Regions from separate parts of the Homo sapiens genome. Here all the other regions are linked to region 5. The links are contacts of gene promoters, found by promoter capture Hi-C in blood cells and fetal thymus (Javierre and others, 2016). All regions are on one chromosome and are shown on one strand. The core of a region is centred on a gene start or on the middle of the fragment in contact, and the rest is flanking DNA. Distances in the headings are between cores, read along the strand shown. Region 1 overlaps NFATC2IP (nuclear factor of activated T cells 2 interacting protein). Region 2 has its middle 3.1 kb from the start of XPO6. Region 3 holds the start of RABEP2 (rabaptin, RAB GTPase binding effector protein 2). Region 4 has its middle 4.2 kb from the start of NFATC2IP. Region 5 holds the start of NPIPB7 (nuclear pore complex interacting protein family member B7). Region 6 overlaps LOC124903672 (a long non-coding RNA gene).

Region 1 (3,504 bases), core at 906-3,405, 490 kb after region 5:
CTTTAATGTCCATATTTCTACCAGCAGTCTCTTCAAGGCAGTCTAGGTTTTTCCTAACATACACCTCAAAATTCTTGCAGCTTTGGCCAGGCACAGTGCCTCACATCTGTAATCCTAACACTTTGAGAGGCCAACATGGACAGATTGCTTGAGCTCAGGAGTTCAAGACCAGCCCGGGCAACATAGTGAAACCCTGCCTCTACAAAAAATACAAAAATTAGCCCAGCATGCTGGCGCAGGCCTATAGTTCCAGCTACCCAGGAGGCTGAGGTGTGAGGATCGCTTGTGCCTAGGAGATTGAGGCTGCAGTGAGCTGAGATTGGGCCACTGCACTCCAGCCTGGGAGACAGCAAGACCCTATCTGAAAAAAAAAAAAAAAAAAAAAAAAAAAAATTATTCCAGCCCTGATCCAATTTCAAAGCCACTGTTACATTTAACCATTTATTCCAGCAGCACCCCACTTTTGTATTTTGGCTGTTGTAACAAAGTACCACAAGTTGGGTGGCTTAAAACAACATAAATTTATTCTCTCATTGTTCTGGAGGGTAGAAGTCTGAAATCAAGGTGTTAGCAGAGCAAGTGTCTCTGAAGATATGGGGGAAGAAAACAAACTCAGGATTTTTTTCTTTTCTTTTGAAAAAAACAAAAAAGAGACAGGGCCAGACGTGGTGGCTCACGCCTGTAATCCCAGCACTTTGGGAGGCTGAGGTGGGCGGATCACGAGGTCAGGAGTTCAAGACCAGTCTGATCAACATGGTGAAACCCTGTCTCTACTAAAAATACAAAAAATTAGCCGGGCATGGTGGCATGCGCCTATAGTCCCAGCTACTCAGGAGGCTGAGGCAGAAGAATCGCTTGAACCTGGGAGGCGGAGGTTGCAGTGAGCCAAGATCAAGCCACTGCACTCCAGCCTGGGCGACAGAGCTAGACTTCGTCTCAAAAAAAAAAAAAAAAAAAAAAAAGACAGGGTCTTGCTCTGTTGCCCAGGCTGGAGTGCAGTGGTGCGATCTTGGCTTACCACAGCCTCAAACTCCTGGGCTCAAGCGATCCTTCTACCTCAGCCTCCTGAGTAGTTGGGACTACAGGTGTGTGCCACTACCCTTGGCTAATTTTTTAATTTTTTTTGTGTAGACGGGGTCTCACTATGTTGCCCAGGCTGGACTCAAACTCCTGGGCTCAACTGATCCTCCCACCTCTGCCTCCCAGAGTGTTGGGATTACAGGCATGAGCCACTGCACCTCGCCCCCTCCTTGGGTTTAATTTGCTAGAGCAGCTTACAGAACTCAGGGAGACACTTACTTTCATTTACTGGTTTATTATAAAGGATGTTACAAAGGATACAGATGAAGAGATGTGTAGGGCACAGCATGGGAAAAGGGCGCAGAGCTTCCATAGCTTCCCTGGGCACCATTCTCCAGGAATCACCACATGTTCAACTATTGGGAAGTTCTCCAAACCCTGTCCTCTGGATTTTTATGGAAGCTTTGTTATATAGGCATGACTGATTAAACCATGGGCTATTGGTGGTGACTCAACCTTCACTCTCTCCCTCCTTCTTGGAGGTTGAGGGGTGGGGAAAAAGTCCCAACTGTCTTATCCTACCTTGGTCTTTCTAGTGACCAGCACCATTCCTGAAGCTCTCTAGGGGCTGCCAGCCACCAGTCAACTCATTAGCATGCAAAAAGATACTTAACTCTTTCCCAGGGATTTTAGGAATTTTATACCAGGAAACATACAAAGACCAAATATATATTTGACAACATCACGCAGTCCCTCAGGGTCTCTTCATGGAATCTGCCCTGTCTCCTCCTGGCTCCTGCTGGCGGCCCACAGTCCTTGGCATTCTTGGCTTGCAGGTGCACTCCATTCTGCCTCTGTCATCACGTGTGTTCTCCCCTCATGTCTGTTTCTGTGTCTGTTCCATAAGCATACCAGTCCCAGGCTGGGTGCGGGGGCTCACGCCTGTCATCCCAGCACTTTGGGAGGCCAAAGTGGGTGGCTTATCTGAACTCAGGAAGTTTGAGACCAGCTTGGGCAACAGAGAAACTGTCTCTACCAAAAATACAAAAACTTAGCTGGGTGTGGTGGCCTGTGCCTGTAGTTGCAGCTACTCAGGAGGCTGAGGCAGGAGAATTGCTTGAACCCAGGAGGCAGAGGTTGCAGTGAGTTGTCTACCAGTCCCACGGCATTAGCACTCGTCCCAATCCAGTACAACCTCAACTTGATTGCATCTGCAAAGGCCCCGTCTCCAAATCACATCACATTCACACTTAACAGGGGTTAAGACCACAAGGTGTCTTCTCTGGGGAACATAACCTGTAACATTTTTCTAAGGTCACATATCTAATAGGTGGGAGAGCCTGGCCTCCAGCTCGACTCATCCTCACTCTAGAATCTGGGCTCTCTTAGTCATTGGTACACACTTCTGTTTCATAGGGAAGGAGGCTGAGGCTAGGAGGACTTGCCTGACTTAGAGCCTATACCCCTAAGCCTTGGGCTCGTGGCCCCCGTCCTCTACCTGAGCAACTTGGAGCCCAGAGGGATGACAGGATTCGTCCCAGCTCCCAGAGAGGAGCCTGGCTGGGCTGGCTTCTTTGTCCTCTCTCCTTTCCCCGCATGGGGCCCTGACTTTATTGTTTCCGCCCCTGCCGCCATCCTCCCTGTCCCAAGTTCCTCGTCTATCCCTACGGGATCCCCGCCCCCTTTCATGTTCTGACGTCCATTTTCTTTTGTCTCCATCCAGGATTCCCCTCTAAAGACCCTCATGTCCCACTATGAGGAGGCCATGGGACTGTCGGGACGGAAGCTCTCCTTCTTCTTTGATGGGACAAAGCTTTCAGGCAGGGAGCTGCCAGCTGACCTGGGCATGGAATCTGGGGACCTCATTGAGGTCTGGGGCTGACACCCCACTCCCTGTTTGACGGCCCAGCCTGGACTTGGGGAGAATGACTTTCCCTTTTTTGCCCCATAAGGGCTAGCATAAGCTGAGGTAGAACTTATCTTTAAGCTGCAGCAAAATCAAGGAGTGACTTTTGTCCCCTCTCCTGTTGACCCTGGTTTAGAGCCGTTAACCACTTGGTGAGTTATGTGGGTGTTGTTGCCCTGGGTGGCCTGTGGCTCCGTCCACAAGTCATGCTGAGTTTTGCAGCCTCTGTGACTTGGAGATGTCCCTTCACCCCTCCCCTTTCACCACCATCCTCTTTTCCTCATGGAAATGTCTGCTTTATGAAACTATGCACATATTGAAAGTGAGTTGAAACAAATGAGGGTTGGGTAGGAGCTTCCAGGCCTGGGATTTACACCACGCCTAGCCCAGCAGAGGCCTTAGTCCCATTTGGGGCTTGGGAGTGACATTTGCTTGAGGCTTATACACTGGTGTGGTTGCCTGGCTTGCAGGAAATGACCAAGCTCACACATGCTGGCTGAAGCGTAAGCAGACAACTGAGGTACTCTTTTGAAGGATGAAGGTGGTGGATTCTCAGCCCTGGGGGTCTTCCTCACCTG
Region 2 (3,925 bases), core at 662-3,161, 260 kb before region 5:
TTGTTTGAGACGGAGTCTCGCTTTGTCGCCCAGGCTGGAGTGCAATGGTGCAATCTCAGCTCACTGCAACTTCCGCCTCCCGGGTTCAAACGATTATCCTGCCTCAGCCTCTCGAGTAGCTGGGACTACAGGCACCCACCATGATGCCCGGCTATTTTTTTTATTTTTAGTAGAAACGGAGTTTCACCATAGTGGCCAGGCTGGTCTTGAACTCCCGACCTCAGGTGATCCGCCAGCCTCGGCCTCCCAAAGTGCTGGGATTACAGGCGTGAGCCCTCCCGCCTGGCTTCAAGTGGGTTTCTAAGGAAAAAAGAGGCATAACATAAGGTTGAATAGGAATGATGAGAAAGGGGGAAAAAATAACATAAGCTATTGCCTATACATTGTTCTTTGTATCACAAATTTCAGGAACCTGAAGGAAATGGGGGAGGCAGCTAGTCTGGAACAAAATATCTTTAAACAATTGTCCCCGAGCATGTGGAGGTGGGAGTGTGCCCGAACTCCCATACACAAGTCTCAGTGGACCTGACAAATTTTGCATACTTCACATAACTCAGACTTCCCTGAGCTATTTTTCTTTCCTGTCAAACCTCAGTGTGATCTGAATCAATTCACCCAGAAGGACTGTTAAAACAAAGATTACTCGCTCCACTCATAGACTTTCCCATCCAGTAGGTTTGAGATGGGGCTGAATAATTTGCATTTCTAACAAGCTCCCAAATGAAGCTGATGCTGCAGGTCTAGATACCACATTTGGAGAACCACTGATACAACACTTTACCACTGAAAGCAATAGCTTTCAGGGGTTTTTTAGTTTTTTGTTTGTTTGTTTGTTTGTTTGTTTTTGGAGAAAGGGTCTCACTCTGTTGCAGTGACATGATCATGGCTCACTGCAGCCTCAAACTCCCAGCCTCAAGCACTTTTTTTTTTTTTTTAATGAGACAGAGTTTCGGTCTTGTTGCCCAGGCTGGAGTGCAATGGCATGATCTCGGCTCACCGCAACGTCCGCCTCCTGGGTTCAAGCAATTCTCCTGCCTCAGCCTCCCAAGTAGCTGGGATTACAGGAGCCCACCACCGCACCCAACTAATTTTTTGTATTTTCAGTAGAGACGGGGTTTCACCATGTTGGTCAGGCTGGTCTCAAACTCCCGACCTCAGGTGATCCACCCGCCTCGTCCTCCCAAAGTGCTGAGATTACAGGCATGAGCCACCGCGCCAGGCCATCAAGCACTATTTTTTTTTCTCTTGAGAGGGAGTTTCGCTCTTGTTGCCCAGGCTGGAGTACAATGGTGCAATCTCGGCTCACTGCAACCTCTGCCTCCCAGGTTCAAGCAATTCTCCTGCCTCAGCCTCCCAAGTAGCTGGGATTACAGGCACCTGCCACCACACCCAGCTAAATTTATTTTTGTATTTTTAGTAGAGACGGGGTTTCGCCATGTTGGCCAGGATGGTCTCACCTCCTGACCTCAAGTGATGCGCCCACCTCGACCTCCCAAAGTTCTGGGATTACAGGCATGAGCCACCATGCCCAGCCTCAAGCACATTTATTTTATCAAATCTTTATTGTTGTCCACTAAGTGACAGTCACTATTTCAAGGATTCAATGCTGAGCAAAACAAATATATGTGTGCCCTTATGGAATTTAAAGACAAATTATTTGTAAAATATTGTACAATAATGGATCAGTTATTGTGATAAGAGCAATGAAGGAAAAATTGAAACTAACATGATATAACTTTAATATAGTTTACACGCTAATAAGGCCAAGGGATCTAAAATAATCTGGCAGATTAGGATGGGGAGGAAGTCAGGAAGTGACATTTCTTTAAGCTTTGGCCTTAAAGAAGCAGGAGTTTGCTAGGCAAAGAGAGGGGGCATAGAACATTCCAGGCAGTAGAAACAGCATGTACAAGAGAAGCCATCTCAGTAGGTAAGCTGATGAATCGGAATGGAGGCCAAGTCACTTACTTGGCTTAGTTTAGTAGGATGAGTGAAAGCTTTGGGTTGAGACTCATTTGGAGTGGAATCCAGCTCTTAACTTCACTAGCTAAGGTATCTTGAGTTATTGACTCTCGAAGTCTTGGTTTCCTTACTGTAAAATTGAATGAGATAACAGAAATGCAACTGACTCACTTAAGGGTATGCCTTTGGGTTACATAACTGGACTTCCAGAGATTCATTAGCTTTTGGCTGGGTGTGATGGGAGGCCTAGATCCATTCCTCTAGGATTTTCTTTTTTTTCTGTGTGTGGTTTTGTGTGTGTTTGTTTGTTTGTTTGTTTGTTTTGTTTTGTTTTATTTTTTTGAGACAGGGTCTCAGTCTGTTCTCCATGCTAGAGTGCAGTGGCGCAATCACAGCTCACTGCAGTCTCGACCTCCCAAGCTCAAGCAAGCCTCTCACCTTAAACTCCCAGTTAGCTGGGACTACAGGTGTGCGCCACTATGCCCAGCTGATTTTTTTTTTTTCAGCAAAGACAATGTCTCACTGTGTTGCCCAGGCTAGTCTCCAACTTCTGAGCTCAAGTGATCTGCCCACCCCGGCCTCCCAAAGTGCTGGGATTACAGGCATGAGCCACCACGCCCGGCCATTCCTCTAGGACTTCCTTGCTCTGCTCTTCTCCATTATCAGACTTGTTGTCAAGGTGGTTGCCAGGAACAGCCAGGGCCACAAAATTCCCTGTTCAAATCCAGCAAAAGAGAGCACCTTTTGGCCGGGCACAGTGGCTCACACCTGTAATCCCCAACACTTTGGGAGGCCAAGGTGGATGGATCGCTTGAGGTCAGCAGTTTGAGACCAGCCTGGCCAACTGGTGAAACCCCATCTCTACTTAAAAATACAAAAATGAGGCTGGGCATGGTGGCTCATGCCTGTAATCCCAGCACTTTGGGAGGCCGAGGTGGGTGGATCACCTAAGGTCGAGAGTTTGAGACCAGCCTAGCCAATATGGAGAAACCCCGTCTCTACTAAAAATACAAAAAATTAGCCAGGTGTGGTGGCGCATACCTGTAATCCTAGCTACTTGGGAAGCTGAGGCAGGAGAATCGCTTGAACCCGGGAGGCGGATGTTGTGGTGAGCCGAGATTGCACCATTGCACTCCAGCCTGGGCAACCAGAGCAAAACTCCATCTCAAAAAAAAAAAAAAAAAAAATTAGCTGGGCATGGTGGCAGGCGCCTGTAGTCCCAGCTACTCAGGAGGCTGAGGCAGGAGAATTGCTTGAACCCAGGAGGCAGAGGTTGCAGTGAGCCGAGATTGCACCACTGCACTCCAGCCTGGGTGACAGAGTGAGACTCCATCTCAAAATAAAGAAAAAAGAGAGAGCACCTTTCTCACATCCTTTCTCAAGCCAAGAAGCTTTCCCTACTGATCCTAATTGGCCTAGGCCTAGTCCCCCGGATCTAGCCGTAGTGAAGGAGGGTGGAACTGCTATGAGTGGCTTATAGAATCCCCTGGAGTTGCTTTCAATTCCTCAGAATAAACTGGATGTGTGGAGTCACCACATCATAGCTCCATTGCCAGGCTGGGGTGAAGATTTAATTTAATGTACATAAAACACCTGGCACATGAGGCATGAGATAAGTCACAGCTATTATAAATTTGACTCCAGGGATTTTGTTCAAGTAAACTAAATAACATTTTGTTATTAATATTAATCTGAAGCCTGTCTTATTCCAAAAAAAGATTTAAGGCTGCTATTACTTTTAGTTGGCACTGCAGGGATGGCCCCCAGCCATCTCTGCCTGCCTATTTCTATTGCTACTGCCTTGATCGCCTGCATTTAGTTATTCATTCAACAAACTTTCAGTGAGTTAGTATTAGCTTTGTGCCAGGCCTTTTGCTAAAAATGAAGTATTTAAAGTGAATAAGAATCAGGCAAATTGTCCACTGTCTGGGTCAGCAACAGCCACCCAAATAATTACAGCACA
Region 3 (4,015 bases), core at 1,408-3,907, 450 kb after region 5:
CAGGCGTGGTGGCGAGCACCTGTAGTCCCAGCTGGTTGGGAGGCTGAGGCAGGAGAATAGCATGAACCCGGGAGGTGGAGCTTGCAGTAAGCCAAGATCACACCACTGTACTCCAGCCTGGGCGACAGAGTAAGACTCCATCTCAAAAGAAAAGAAAAAAAAAATTAGCCACGTGTGGTGGCACACGCCTGTAGTCCCAGCTACTTGGGAGGCTGAGGAAGGAGAATCGCTTGAACCCGGGAGGTGGAGGTTGCAGTGAGCTGAGACTGCACCACTGAACTCCAGTCTGGGTAACAGTGAGACACTGTCTCAGAAAAAAAAAAAAATAGGTTCAGCTGTTAGGCTGCTTGGTTTCCAACCTTTGGCTGTTTTCCAGCTATATGACCTTGGGCAAGTTATTTAACCTCTCCGGGCCTCAGAGCTTCCTCTGTAAAATGGAGATGGGTAATAGTTCCTGCCTCACAGAGTTTGTTATGAAGATTAGTTACTCATAAAGCATTTAGCTCAGTGCCTGGCACATAGTGAGTGCTCAAAACATGCTACCTGGCCAGGCGCGGTGGCTCACACCTGTAATCCCAGCACTTTGGGAGGCCAAGGCAGGCAGATCGTTTGAGCTCAGGAGTTCAAGACCTGTCTGGGTAACATAGAGAGACCCTGTTTCTACAAAAAAATACTAAAAATTAGCCAGGCATGGTGGCATGCACCTGTAGTCTTGGCTACTTGGGAGGCTGAGGTAGGAGGATCTGCTTGAGCCCAGGAGGTGGAGGTTGCAGTGAGCTGAGATCACACCAGCGTGCTGTGACGCACTCCAGCTTGGGCGACAGAGTGAAACTCTTATTGACTCAAGAAAAAAAAAAAAAGCTAGCTATTGTTATTATTTAGGACACACCTGGCTTTTCTTATATAGTAGATATAACAAGTTTCCCTTAATAAATGTATGTAAACTTTTAAAATGTGGATCTATTTAAAGAACAAATATTAAGTAAACAGCACAGTAAGTTGTACAAGGATGTGTCTACATTGCACAGGCAGGTGGATCCTGAAATGTGGGAAATACAGCCCCAGAGAAGTCTCCAGCCACCAGCAGCTGTTAGAAAGGGAAATCGCATGTTGGGAAGGGAATTTTAGGAAGTTTACTCTGGAAGCCAATGTCAAGGCCACACTATAGAGGAAGATCTGTGAGAAGGTTGGGACAAAAGTCCAGGAGAGAGTTGACGAGAGCCCCACCGCAGCAGGGGCATAGCAGCGGGGGCAGCTCTGACATCTGTTTCAGAGTCTCTGGCTTCTGCTAGAGGAAGGAGAGTAGAAAACAGGATCAGCAGCTGGGGCGTCTGGGGCCAGAGGACCAAGTACAAAGAACGTGGGGCGGAGGTGGGGAAGCTGGTGCATGGCGTGGGGTGGAGGGGGGAGTGTCTGGGGAAGGCTAGAGAGCAGAGCATTAGACTCACAGAGACTGGGCCAGGGCTGATTCTATTTCCCAGAAGTCCAGACTAAAATGAGGTTGGTTTGGGGAACTGAGAAGTTTCTCGCCCATCTTCAGGGTTGATCAATCATCAGTGAGGGACAAGAAATGACATGGGACAAGGCAACAGATAGAAGCTGGGAGCTAAACTTAGCTATAACTGACAGAGCTGCTGCTATCACATGGAGGGCCTCTATGCAAATTTTAAAAGGGCGGCCCTTCCTCTGGGCCATAGGCATGCCCTGTGCCAGGCAGCCCTGCTAACCTATCCCATAGCTTATCTGTGCCCCCAATCCCTTTCTCGTCATGCACTCCCCAGTATGGGGTTGATGGGGAGTCTAGGTGAGTCCCGCGTCTCACCTTTCAGGATGGCCTGCAGCGAGGCCACCTCCTCTTGGCACTGCCGCTGCACCGCAGCCACAGCCTCGGCCTTCGTGCTCTCGCTCACCTCTGCCACAGCCTTCATGGTTTCCATTTCTGCCAGGGCGCCTGCCAGCTCAGCCCGAAGCCGGCTGAGCTCACCTGACTCGGCCTCACCATTTGCCCCTTCCTGGGACCGGGAGTCCTCCAGTGCTGTGGGGGACAGGGATCAGCCTCTCTTCCCATCTCTTACCCCAGGCCACCTACCGGCTTAGCAAGTCCTGCAACCTAGTACTGTTGCCTTCATCTGGGGCCTCCTTCACCTGGGCCCGCCCGGCTCACCTGGCCCCGCCCCTGCCCCGCCCCCTTCCCACTCGCTCTGCCGGGTGCTGCCTACACTCCATCTCTTCGCGGTGGCCAGTTTCACTCAGTCCTCTCTTCGGTCCCACCTGGCCCCGCCCTCCTAGTGGCCGCGCCCCTTCCTCACCGGGCCCCACTTCGCACCTGTCACTGGCCCTACCCCTTCAATGGCCGGGCCACGCCCCCTTTTGCCTGTGGCTGTAGGCCCCGCCCCCTTTCCCGACGGCGTGGCCCCGCCCCTTCCTCCATCATCCCTCTCCACCCCCCATCCGCAGGTGGCTGGCTCGGCCCCGCCCCCAGCATCACCGTTCCCCGCTTGCACGGACGCCCCCTCACGTACCAGCCCCCGGCCGCCGCCGCCGCTCATCGTCGTCCGCGGCCACCGGCGCAGCTGCCGCCATTGCCTCAGCGCAAACGGCGGATTCCCGCACTCCCTGGTGACGGAGCGCACCGCTTCCGGGTCCTCTCGGCTGTTTCCGGATCCGCTCGGCTGTTTCCGGATCGGCCCCGGGCTGGAGGCCCCGGACGGAGGATGGGGGGATTGCCGAGCCTCGGCCGAAGATTCCCGAGTCGGCCCCCGGCCCCGGCCCCGGCCCCGCCCCGGCTCTTCTTGGCTGGGTCGCGCGGTTCGGGAGGACGCCTGCCTTTCAAGCCCGGAAGAGGATCCTTAAGAGGTCTTGCCCGGCGTCTCTCCGTGACCTTGGAAGCCCTGCTCCAATTATGCCTCCTCCGGGACACCGGCCTGCGGAGAGCTCCCCCTCGCTCCCTCGCTGCCCCTGCCCGGAGCCAGCCTTTGATCGGCTCCGGCCGCCCTTCCGCCCGAGCCTGGCTTGCGTTACCGCGAATTGTGGCGGGGCCCTCCCTGCACCTCCGCCCTCTTGGAGCGTCCCTCGGGGCAGGGCCGGGTCGGCTTCATTTTTCTGAGCGCCTCGGAGTCCCCGCGTAGTTAGTCGGAGTCTGAAACTTGCACGTCCCCACCCCCATTTTGTTACTCAGCCAGTCACCGCTTCCTGCTGGCCCCCCTTTCCTCCTCCCAACGCCCTCAAATCCCTCCTCTCCTCTCCGCCTGTGTCTAGATCAGGCTCTTTATCTGTGACCTCCACCCGGACGGTGACAGGCAATTCAGATTTATGTCCAGAGCCTTGGTTCCCCTTCCCTCAAACCTTTTTTCCCTCTGTAAAGGACACGCCAGGAACCTGGAAGTCCTTGATTCTACGTGTCCTCCTGCAAGTCCCGTAAACTCTACTTCCAATGTGCTGACTATTCCAGAATGTGCCCCTTTTTCTCCATCTCCAGCGCTAACACTCCGTCCCAGCTCCCATCACTTCTCCTGAACTTCCGCAGTGTCGACTCCACCCTTTAATTAATTAATTCTCCGTAAAGCAGCTGGAGCGATTTTTGTAAAACAGATAATGCAGTTTGAAAATGGCCAAAGGTAGAACGCTTTTACACTGTTGGTGGGAATGTAAATTAGTTCAACCATTGTGGAAGACAGTGTGGTGATTCCTCAAAGACCTAGAACCAGAAATACCATTTGACCCAGAAATCCCATTACTGGGTATATACCTAAAGGAATATAAATCATTCTATTACAAAGATACATGCACGAGTATGTTCATTGAAGCACTATTCAAAATAGCAAAGACATGGACTCAACCCAAATGCCCATCAATGATAGACTGGATAAAGAAAATGTGGTACATATACACCATGGAATACTATACAGCCATAAAAAGGAACGAGATCATGTCCTTTGCAGGGACATGGATGAAGCTAGAAGCTATTATCCTCAGCAAATTAATGCAGCAACAGAAAGCTAAACATGCATGTTCT
Region 4 (3,686 bases), core at 30-2,529, 470 kb after region 5:
GCTGGGACTATAGGCGTGCACCACCACACCCGGCTGGCTAACTTCTGTATTTTTTGGTAGAGAAGGGGTTTTGCCATGTTGCCCAGGCTAGACTTGAGCTCCTGGCCTCAAGTGATCCTCCCACCTCGGCCTCCCAAAGGGCTAGGATTACAGTCGTGAGCCACTGCGCCTGGCCAAAAAATAATTTTTTTTTTTTTTAAGAGATGAGGTCTTGGCTGGGCACGGTGGCTCACACTTGTAATCTCAGCACTTTTGGAGGCTGAGGCGGGTGGATCACTAGGTCAAGAGATTGAGACCATCCTGGCCAACATGGTGAAACCCCGCCTCTACTAGAAATACAAAAATTAGCCGGGCCTGGTGGCACACGCCTGTAGTCCCAGCTACTTGAGAGGCTGAGCAGGAGAATCGCTTGAACCCAGGAGGCGGATGTTGCAGTGAGCCGAGATCACGCCACTGCACTCCAGCCTGGCAACAGAGCGAGACTCCGTCTCAAACAAAAACAAAAACAAAAAACAGAGATGAGGTCTCGCTATGTGTGCCCAGGCTAGCCTTGAGCTCCTGGACTCAAGCAATCTTCCCATCTCAAGCATTCCTAGTAGCTGGGACTTACAGGTGCACTTTCAGCTCTTGAGCAAGGTTTGGGGAAAGGAGACTTGAAAATTTTAGACTCTCAGGGCCACCTCCTGCTTGCGGTTTGCAGTGGTTTCCCGGGAGCGCCCAAGACTGGCCTGCCGCCTGGCTACAGAGAGAGGCTGAAGGCCTCCTGGGGCTGGGAAGTCGGTGGAGTCCAGGAGCCTCCGTTTCCTGGAAAACAGCTCCACCTGCTGGCTGTTGTGCGCCTGCAGTCCTGACCTTGGCGGAGTCTGCACGGGGAAGGGAAATGCATGCTGGTCCAGCGGGGGGCGCCTGCAGGGGACATCGGTGCCGCGGTTGGGATGGAGGCGTATGGGATGAGACTAGGGCAGAGGTGGACATGCCGTTCTGCGTGGATGTATGAGGCGCGAGTTTTGTGAGCACCGTGGGTGTGAGCAGCATGTGGTATTGGGTGTGTGCGGTGTGGGTATCCTGAGCGACGTGTGGCGTGGGACGTAAGTGTGAGGCGGCAGGTGGTTATACGGTTGGAGGCAAAGTGGGAAGAGTGAAGTGTTGAAGGGGCGTGTTTGTGTTGTGTTGGGATATATGTTGTGCAGGAGTTGCCAACGCTGTGGATGTGTGGAGGGCGTGTAGTCTCTGAGGTGCACAATATTGTTGGTAGGAGGTGTTGGCGAGTGTGTTTGGGAAATATAATTAAGAAACAAAATATCTAAACCCAACAAACTTCTCCACAAAGGTAGTAGAGACAGAAAACAGTTTTATTATTATTTTTGGTTAAAAAGTTGTAAAATGGGCCTGGCGTGATGGCTCACGCCTGTAATCCCAGCACTTTGGGTGGCTGAGGCGGGCGGCTCACCTGAGGTTGGGAGTTCGAGACCAGCCTGACCAACATGGTGAAACTCCATCTCTACTAAAAGTACAAAAAATTAGCCAGGCGTGGTGGCGCATGTCTGTAATCCCAGCTACTCAGGAGGCTGAGGCAGGAGAATCGCTTGAACCCGGGAGGTGGAGGTTGCAGTGATCCAAGATTGTGCCACTGCACTCCAGCCTGGGCAACAAGAGTGGAACTCCATCTCAAAAAAAAAAAAGTTTTAAAATGTATTATTATTTTTCGTAGAGTTGGGGGTTTTACTATATTGCCTAGGCGGGTCTTAACGCTCAGCCTGAAGTGATCCTCCCACCTTGGCCTCCCAAAGTGCTGGGATTACAGACGTGAACCACTGTGCCTGGCCTTAAATTGTATGTATTTATTTATTTTTAGAGAGAGGGTCTTGCTCTGTTGCCCAGGCTCGAGTGAAGTGGTGAGATCATAGCTCACTGCAGCCTTGAACTCCTGGGCTCAATCAGCCTCCCAAGTAGCTAGGACTACAGGTGTGCATCACGACACCCACTAATTATTATTACTTTTTGTAGAGACAGGGTCTTGCTATATTGCCCAGGCTGGCCTTGAACCCTAGACCTCAAGTGATCCTCCCACCTCAGGCTCCCAGTGCTGGGATTACAGGCATAAGCCAACATGCCCGGGCTGGTTTTATTATTGAATAAGCATAATTTTTCTTTCTTTTTTGACATGGAGTTTCACTCTTGTTGCCCATGCTGGAGTGCAATGGCACAATCTCAGCTCACTGGAACCTCTGCCTCCCGGGTTCAAGTGATCCTCCTGCCTCAGGCTCCGGAGTAGTTGGGATTACAGGTGCCCACCACAATGCCTGGCTAATTTTTTGTATTTTTAGTAGAAAAATACACCACCATATTGGCCAGGCTGGTCTCGAACTCCTGACCTCAGGTGATCCAACCACCTCAGCCTCCCAAAGTACTGGGATTAGAGGCGTGAGCCACTGCACCCGGCTTGAATAAGCATTAAGTTAGAATGTGATGCACATCACTGGCAATCTGGTAAAAGATTGCAAAGGCAAAAAGAAATATCCTTCATTACAGCCAAGCAGGTGTAAACCATTATCCTGTTTTCAAGATAAAATTTCAAATTCCATATTGTTACAGGAGCTGCAGGTTCATATGCCCACTGTGCAGTCACAGCTCTGTGACTCTGAGACGGTGGGGATGCAGCAGAGAGAGTTTAATGATTGCAGGGTGCCGAGCGAGGTGATGGGAGGAGACCCTCAAATCTCTCTCCAGGGAGTTCTGGGCTGGGCTTTTAAGGGGTTTGTGGGGAGTGATGGGCTGGAATATTGGGGTCATTGATTGGTTGGGAAGGGGGATGAAATTGTCAGGGTGTAGAAGCTGCATTTTGCGGGGAGTCAGCTCCTTGTGGGGTCCTTCAGGTCAGCTGAATCAGTAGTTCCATCAAGACCTGAAGGAATATCTCAAAGGGAACACCTAATGTAATGTCCAAGCCGTGATTCAAGAGCAGTTAAGGGGAACTATAATCTTCTGACAGGGGCTGTGTGACTGTGGGGCAACAGGCACCAGATGGCTTTGGGGAAGCAGGTCAGGGAGCAGCTGCCCTGAGATCAATGCTGAGTGCACCGCAAGTTTGGTTTCTTTTCATTTCTCCCTCTCCCTTCTTCTCAAGTTTATAGGGGTGGTTGCAATACCATGTTTTCAAGATAAACAATGACTAGTCCTCACGTAAGAGGACGTGACAACACCTTTAGTCAAACATAGTTCAGCCTTTTTTTTTTTTTTTTTTTTTTGAGACGGAGTCTCGCTCTGTCGCCCAGGCTGGAGTGCAGTGGTGCAATCTCGGCTCACTGCAACCTGCGCCTCCTGGGTTCATGCCATGCTCCTGCCTCAGCCTCCCGAGTAGCTGGGACTACAGGCGCCCGCCACCACGCCCAGCTAATTTTTTGTATTTTTTAGTAGAGACAGGGTTTCACTGTGTTAGCCAGGATGGTCTCAATCTCTGGACCTTGTCATCCGCCCGCCTTGGCCTCCCAAAGTGCTGGGATTACAGGTATGGGCCATCGCGCCTGGCTTTTTTTTTTTTCTTTTGCAACAGAGTCTGGCTCTGTCTCCCAGGCTGGAGGGCAATGGCTCGATCTCGGGTCACTGCAACCTCCACCTCCTGGGTTCAACTGATCCTCCTGCCTCAGCCTCCCAAGTAGCTAGGAATACAGGCGCACACCACCATG
Region 5 (3,529 bases), core at 1,005-3,504:
GCTCACTGCAACGTCCAGCTCCTCGGCCCAAGCGATCCTCCCACCTCAGCCTCTCCAGTAACTGGGATAACAGGTACGCACCACCAGGCCCGACTAATCTTTTTTGGAATTTTTTGTAGAGATGGGGTTTCGCCATGATGCCCTGGCTAGTCTTCAACTCCTGGACTCAAGTGATCTGCCCACCTCGGCCCCCTAAAGTGCTGGGATTACAGGCCTGAGCTGTGTAATTTCATGCCGCGTGACACAGCCCAGTAAAAAGGAAGAAACCCCGCGGGTCCAGCGTCTACTCACAGGGGTGGGCTGATGGCTGATAAATCCCAGCAGGAGCCAAATGAGGAGCCAAAAGCGCAGCCGCATGTCCTGATCCTTTCAGGGTGCCCTGAGGCGGCCAGGACAGAGGTGGAGGTGGCTTAGGGCAGGGGGGAGGGAAGGGGACGGGGACCGGGGCCGGATCTGAGTTGGGGCGGGGGAGGGGAGGGGGAGGGGAAGGGGAGGGGGAGGGGAAGGGGAGGGGGAGGGGAAGGGGAAGGGGAGGGGAAGGGGAGGGGAGGGGGAGGGGAAGGGGAGGGGAAGGGGGGAAGTAAGGGAAGGGAAAGGAGGAGAAGGGGGCTGTTGGGCACCTGGAGGAGGTGGAGGAGGAGAAGAAGAAAGGGGTCTGGGAAAGGATCCGGTTCAAATTAAGTTCTCAAGCGCTGGTGGAAGGTTTAGCTACAGGTCACGGAGAAGATCAGGGAAGCAACAGGACACGCGGGGCAAGGGAGCGTGAGGCTTAGGAGCAATTAGAGGGAGACAAAAAGGTTCTGCTATCCGCCAAACCTTCTTCGGTCTGGGCCCTCCCTTAGCAAACCTGGGGCTTTATACTCCCTCTCCACCAATCCCTGATGACCCCGGTGGTGCCTCACAATGGACAATGCCAAGTAGCGCCCGCATCATTCCAATGACCCCTCCCCCATCTCAGTCTCCCACACTCCTCGCAAGGACAGGTCCTCTCTGGAACCTTCACAAACCTGATTTCTGGTCCTCCCCAACCAGCTCCCTGTCCCTGCTTCTGGGCGCTCCTTCCTTCCTGAGCTCCCAGGGTTCCTCAAGGTCACTTTTGGCGACAAAACATAAAAAACAAATGATGGCAGGATGGCAGGAAGAACCTCATACCCAAGCAGAGTGCCAGGTTTTACAGCCTCCGCTCAGCCATTCATATCCTAAGCAACAAAACATCAGCAGGATGCGGAAGGTCCCGATAGTAAACCATCTCCATCACATCCATGTAGCCATCCGTCCATCAACCCGTATCTCAGGAACAAATGTAGATACATTCATTTTAAGCAAGCATGGTACATTTACAAAAATTAACCTGACTTATTTTGTTCCAGCAAATCTCAATATATTTGAGAGCAATCAAATCACACAGCACGTTTCTGATCATATAACTGTGCTAGAAGTCAATGATTAAAAGCTAATTCAAAATTATTATTTGCTTGGAAATTCAAAGTGCCCTTATAAGACATAAACATAAGAAAGAATCCAAAATGAAACAAGATTGCCTTTCAACTCAATGATAAGATCATAACATGGCAATAAAATGTCTCCCTCTGGCCTGGGAATTCCTCTTTGTGGCACAAGGTTGTGTGATCTCAAATCACCCCTAACCCACCTAGACAATTTAACATCCGAAACCGAGTGATGATGTCCTTATCTATAATCATCTTACTGCCTGTGTGTGTGGACTTTAAATTCTGAACCCAAATGAGGGGGAGAAAACCAAGTTGACCTTCATGATTGACCTCTCAGGGATGTCCAAGGAATCTGTGCATGGTGGCACCTGCCTGTAGTCCCAGATACTTGGTAGGCTGAGGCAGGAGAATCACTTGAACCTGGAAGATGGAGTTTGCAGTGAGCTGAGATAGTGCCACTGCACTCCAGTCTGAGCAACAGAGCGAGACTCCGTCTCCAAAAAAAAAAAGTTGGAGGATTCACATTTCCTATTTTCAAAAGCTCACTACAAAGCTATAGTAATTAAGACAGTGTTGTATTGGTGTAAGAATAAACCTGGGTCTGGTGCAGTGGCCCACGCCTGTAATCCCAGTATCTCTGGAGGTCAAGGTGGGCAGATCATTTGAGCTGAGGAGTTTGAGACCAGACTGGGCAACATAGTGAGACACCGTCTCTACCAAAAAAATGTACAAAAGGTAGCTGGGTGTGGTGGCTAATTGGGAGGCTGAGGCAGAGGAGCCCAGGAGTTCAAGGTTACGGTGAGCTATGATCACGCCACTTCACTCCATCCTGGGTGACAAAAACCCTGTCTCTAAACAAAATAAAAAATAAAAGTAAAAATAAAGTTAGCAGTTAGGGTCTACTATGTTAACTTTTTTCTGCACAGACTGCTGTATCACACCACCTGCAAAAAAGTTAATTCAAAATGAAAACAAGATCTAAATGTAAGAGCTAAAACTATAAAACTCTTAGAAGAAAATGTAGGAGGCTGGGCGCGCTGGTTCACGCCTGTAATCCCAGCACTTTGGGAGGCCGAGGTGGGCGGATCACTTGAGGTCAGGAGTTTGAGGCCAGCCTGGCCAACACGGTGAAACCCCGCCTCTATTAAAAATATAAAAAATTAGCTGGGTGTGGTGGCACACCCTTGTAATCCCCGCTACTCAGGAGGCTGAGGCAGGAGAATCGCTTGAACCCGGGAGTCTGGGCAAAAAGAATGAAACTCTGTTTCAAAAAAAAAAAAAAAAAAAAAGGAGATGGGGTTTCACCGTGTTAGGCAGGATGGTCTCGATCTCCTGACCTCGTGATCTGCCCGCCTCAGCCTCCCAAAGTGCTGGGATTACAGGCGTGAGCCACTGCACCCCGCCCCTCTTTGTTTGTTTTTTAAGAGATAGGGTCTTGCTCTGTGCCCACATTGGGGTGCAGTGGTATGATCATAGCTCACTGCAGCCTCGAATTCCTAGGCTCAAGTGATCCTCCCACTTCAGCCTCCAGAGTAGCTGGGAGTACAGGCACGCAGCACTACACCTGGCTTATTTTATTTTTATTTTTTGAGACAGGGTTTCATTCCTGTCACCCAGGCTGGAGTGCAATGGTTCAATCTCAGCTCACTACAACCTCCACCTCTCGGGCTCAAGCAATTCTCCCGCCTCAGCCTCCCAAGTAGCTGGGACTACAGGCATACCTTGCCAGGATAATTTTTTCTTTTTTCTTTTTTTGCCATGATGCCCAGACTGGTCTTGAACTCCTGGCCCAAGTTGTCCTCCTGCCTCCCAGAATGCTGGGATTATAGGCATGAGCCACCACGCCCGGCCTCCTTTTATCATTATTTTAATTTTTTATAGAGATAGAACCTTGCAATGTTGCTCATGCTGGTCTTGAACTCCTGGTCTCAAGCAAACCTCCCGCCTTGGCCTCCCAAAGTGCTGGGATTACAGGCATGAGCCACTGCACCTGGCTCCCACTTAGATATGTTACCAGAAGCACAAGCAACCAAACAAAAAATAGATAAATTGGACTTCATCAAAATAAGTGTCTTTCC
Region 6 (3,742 bases), core at 750-3,249, 350 kb after region 5:
ATTTTCTTTATCCATTCATCTGTTTGTTGGGGTTTTTTTCTGTTTTTGTTTTGAGATGGAGTCTCCACCTGTCGCACAGGCTGGAGTGCAGTGGCATGATCTCGGCTCACTGCAACCTCTGTCCACCTCCCAGGGTCAAGCGATTCTCCTGCCTCAGCCTCCCGAGTAGCTGGGATTACAGGCGCCTGCCACCAGGCCCGGCTAATTTTTGTATTTTTAGTAGAGATGGAGTTTCACCATGTTGGCCAGGCTGGTCTCGAACTCCTTACCTCAAGTGATCTGCCTGCCTCAGCCTCCCAAAGTGCTGGGATTACAGGCATGAGCCACTGCGCCTGGACAATTTTTACTTTTTTTTTTGAGACGGAGTCTTGCTCTGTCACCCAGACTGAAGTGCAGTGGCGCCGTCTTGGCTCACTGCAAGCTCCGCTTCCCGGGTTCACGCCATTCTCCTGCCTCAGCCTCCCGAATAGCTGGGACTACAGGCGCCCACCACCATTCCTGGCTAATTTTTTTGTATTTTTAGTAGCGATGGGTTTTCACCATGTTAGCCAGGATGGTCTCGATATCCTGACCTCGTGATCTGCCTGCCTCGGCCTCCCAAAGGGCTGGGATTACAGGCGTGAGCCACTGTGCCCAGCCAATTTTTACTATTTTTATATTTCCAAAAGCTTTGAACTAATTTTACTACTTATGTGCAAATTCTTTTTTTTTTTTGAGACAGAGTTTCACTCTTGTTGCCCAGGCTGGAGTGCAATGGCACGATCTCGGCTCATCGCAACCTCTGTGTCCCAGGTTCAAGCGATTCTCCTGCCTCAGCCTCCCGAGTAGCTGGGATTACAGGCATGCGCCACCATGCCCAGCTAATTTTGTATTTTTAGTAGAGATGGGGTTTATCCATGTTGCTCAGGCTGGTCTTGAACTCCTGACCTCGGGTGATCTGCCCACCTCGGCCTACCAAAGTGCTGGGATTACAGGTGTGAGCCACCATGCCTGGGCTTCAAATTCTTTATTTTGAAACAATTTCAAATGTACAGAGATGTTAAAAGGCTAGCGTTTCCAGGAAAGTCTAGAACGTCAGGATAACATTTACCCAGATTCACCAGTTGTTAATATTTTGCCACATTTGCATTTTCTCTTTCTGTGTGTATATTATACATATATATGTGTGTGTATGTGTATATATATATATATATATATGCTTTTTTTGGAAACCTTGTTTGTGTGTGAGACTCATTCTGTTGCCAGGCTGGAGTGCAGTGGCAAGATCTCGGCTCACTGCAATCTCCACCTCCCGGGTTCAAGCGATTCCCCTGCCTCAGCCTCCCGAGTAGCTGGAACTACAGGCGCGCACCACTACGCCTGGCTAATTTTTTGTATTTTAGTAGAGACAGGGTTTCACCATGTTGGCCAGGCTGGTCTCGAGCTCCTGACCTCAAATGATCCACCCACCTCAGCCTCCCAAAGTGCTGAGATTACAGGCATGAGCCACCACACCTGGCCTTTTGGAAACATTTGAGAGTAGGTTGCATCTATCACACTCTGTTGCCCCATCATACTTCTTTATATATTTACTAAGAATATACCCTGGGCTGGGCTTGGTGGCTCACGCCTGTAATCCCAGCACTTTGGGAGGCCAAGGTGGGCAGATCACTTGAGGTCAGGAGTTCAAGACCAGCCTGGCTAATGTGGTGAAACCCCGTATCTACTAAAAATACAAAAATTAGGCCGGGCGCAGTGGCTCACGCCTGTAATCCCAGCACTTTGGGAGGCCAAGGAGGGTGGATCACCTGAGGTCAGGAGTTCAAGACCAGCCTGACTAACATGGAGAAACCCCCTCTCTACTAAAAATACAAAATTAGCCAGGCGTGGTGGCACACGCCTGTAATCCCAGCTACTCGGGAGGCTGAGGCAGGAGAATCACTTGAACCCAGGAGGCGGAGGTTGCAGTGAGCTGGGATCTCACCACTGCACTGCAGCCTGGGTGACAAGAGGGAGGGAGACTCTGTCTCAAAAAACAAAAAACAAAACAAAACAAAAAAACACCCTGGCCGGACATGGTGGCTCACATCTGTGATCCCAACACTTTGGGAGGCAGAGGCAGGTGGATAGCTTGAGGCCAGCAGTTCAAGACCAGCATGGGCAACACAGCAAAACCCCATCTTTACCAAAAGAAAAAAAAACCAAGAAACAAAAAATTAGCTGGGCGTGGTGGTGCACACCTATAGTTCCAGCCACAACTACTTGGGAGACTGAGGTGGGAGGATCTCTTGAGCCTGGGAGGTGGAGGCTGCATTGAGCCAAGACCCCACTGCTGCACTCCAGCCTGGGTGACAAGAGCGAGACCCTGTCTCAACAACCACAAAAAAGAATACATCCTTCCATATCTCCAGTAGAGTCATAACACATTCAGGAAATTTATCATGGATGCAATACTTTGTAGTCTATATTCCAAATTTATCAATTTTCCCCATACTGTCTGTTTTGTTTTTATTTTGAGATAGGGTCTCGCTCTGTCGCTCAGGCTGGAGTGCAGTGGCGAGATCACGGCTCACTGCAGCCAGGACCTCCTGAGCTCAAGCAATCCTCATTTTCCCCCATCCCCCCATCACAGGTAATCAATTTGATGAGTTTCTGGTTTATACTTTGTTTTTCTTGGCAAAAACCTGCAGATACATTTATGTCTTCATATTTCCCCTTCTTCCTTATACAAAAGGTAGCACAGTATACAAAAGGTAGCACAGTCTTTTGAAGTTTGCTTTCTTTTTCTTTTCTTTTTTTTTTTTTTTTTTTTTTTATGAGATGGAGTCTGGCTCTGTCATCCAGGCTGGAGTGCAGTGGCATGATCTTGGCTCACTGCAACCTCCACCTCCCGGGTTCAAGCGATTCTTCTGCCTCAGGCTCCCGAGTAGCTGGGACTACAGGCGTGAGCCACCACACCCAGCTAATTTTTGTATTATTAGTAGAGACGGGGTTTCACCATATTGGCCAGGCTGGTCTCGAACTCCTGACCTCACGATCCAACCACCTCGGCCTCCCAAAGTGCTGGGATTACAGGCGTGAGCCACTGAGCCTGGCCATAGTGATATAATTTTTAAATTGCACACGATAAGACAACATTCCCATTGTTGGGGCAGGAGTGCTGCCCCAACCCCACCACCAGGAATGTTAGGCAACCATCAGGTGATGGTCAGGTGGTTGTTAAACTTGTCTCTAAAATAGTAATTGGTTGCAGCCAGCACCAGGGAAAGGCAGTCTCCAAATAGATGGAAAACACTTGAAACTGATGATCAGCAGCTTCTCGATAAGATCTCAGAAGTTGGGTAAATGGGCTCAAGCTTATGCACCAAGAGGCAAAATGGCGGAGTTTAATGGTACATGCCCTTCCTCCAGGAATGCTAGATCTGTAAGGGAAGAACGTCTTAAGTGAGCATGTGCACTTCAGTATACTGAACACACTGTGCTTGTGGCCCCTCCAAGTGCTGGCAGGCCACCGTGCATGTGGACAGCCCATGCCAAGGTAGGAATCAGGGGAGAAGAGATGCAAACCGTAAATCCCTGGAAGCATGCCAGCATATGAAACCCCAAGTCAAAGGTCAAACCAGGGACTTGAATCTGTCAAGTCATTCACGCCTGGCCCTCTTCCAAGTGTACTTTACTTCCTTTCATTCCTGCTCTAAAACTTTTTAATAAACGTTCACTCCTGCTCTAAAACTTGCCTCTGTCTCTCCCTCTGCCTTATGCC

What was found. The method cuts DNA at HindIII sites, captures the fragments that hold promoters and counts their contacts. A CHiCAGO score of 5 or more calls a contact.
Region 1: a fragment that was not itself captured here is called in contact with the fragment with the promoter of NPIPB7 in region 5 in 1 of 17 cell types (total CD8 T cells); the score reaches 5.4 in total CD8 T cells.
Region 2: a contact is called between a fragment that was not itself captured here and the fragment with the promoter of NPIPB7 in region 5, in 1 of 17 cell types (naive CD8 T cells). The highest score is 5.3, in naive CD8 T cells.
Region 3: the fragment with the promoter of RABEP2 here is called in contact with the fragment with the promoter of NPIPB7 in region 5 in 1 of 17 cell types (erythroblasts); the score reaches 5.8 in erythroblasts.
Region 4: a contact is called between a fragment that was not itself captured here and the fragment with the promoter of NPIPB7 in region 5, in 1 of 17 cell types (monocytes). The highest score is 5.0, in monocytes.
Region 6: a fragment that was not itself captured here is called in contact with the fragment with the promoter of NPIPB7 in region 5 in 1 of 17 cell types (erythroblasts); the score reaches 5.3 in erythroblasts.

What each region holds. Positions count from the first base shown.
Region 1 is chr16:28,960,962-28,964,465 of GRCh38, forward strand. NFATC2IP (nuclear factor of activated T cells 2 interacting protein) reads left to right here. Exons shown (of 8, transcript NM_032815.4): 8 at 2,744-3,504. The coding sequence ends at 2,902. All of the region lies in intron 1 of NFATC2IP-AS1 (NFATC2IP antisense RNA 1), which reads right to left. Among named protein-coding and RNA genes, the nearest start is that of NFATC2IP-AS1, 3.7 kb to the right of the region's middle. RefSeq lists a silencer at 1,346-1,554. The HindIII fragment of the contact is 1,351 bases long and covers 1,481-2,831 here.
Region 2 is chr16:28,213,063-28,216,987 of GRCh38, forward strand. No RefSeq gene overlaps it. Among named protein-coding and RNA genes, the nearest start is that of XPO6, 3.1 kb to the left of the region's middle. The HindIII fragment of the contact is 167 bases long and covers 1,829-1,995 here.
Region 3 is chr16:28,922,581-28,926,595 of GRCh38, forward strand. It overlaps RABEP2 (rabaptin, RAB GTPase binding effector protein 2), which reads right to left and starts at 2,658. Exons shown (of 13, transcript NM_024816.3): 1 at 2,523-2,658; 2 at 1,823-2,035. The coding sequence starts at 2,583. RefSeq lists enhancers at 1,790-1,879, 1,910-2,139, 3,118-3,701 and silencers at 2,300-2,519, 2,550-2,899. The HindIII fragment of the contact is 8,433 bases long and covers 1-4,015 here.
Region 4 is chr16:28,944,908-28,948,593 of GRCh38, forward strand. No RefSeq gene overlaps it. Among named protein-coding and RNA genes, the nearest start is that of NFATC2IP, 4.2 kb to the right of the region's middle. The HindIII fragment of the contact is 5,380 bases long and covers 1-3,686 here.
Region 5 is chr16:28,470,082-28,473,610 of GRCh38, forward strand. It overlaps NPIPB7 (nuclear pore complex interacting protein family member B7), which reads right to left and starts at 2,255. Exons shown (of 7, transcript NM_001396030.1): 1 at 292-2,255. The coding sequence starts at 357. It also overlaps a transcript of CLN3 not described here. The HindIII fragment of the contact is 21,132 bases long and covers 1-3,529 here.
Region 6 is chr16:28,816,621-28,820,362 of GRCh38, forward strand. It overlaps LOC124903672 (a long non-coding RNA gene), which reads right to left. Exons shown (of 2, transcript XR_007065042.1): 2 at 2,471-3,401. Among named protein-coding and RNA genes, the nearest start is that of ATXN2L, 4.5 kb to the right of the region's middle. The HindIII fragment of the contact is 2,667 bases long and covers 667-3,333 here.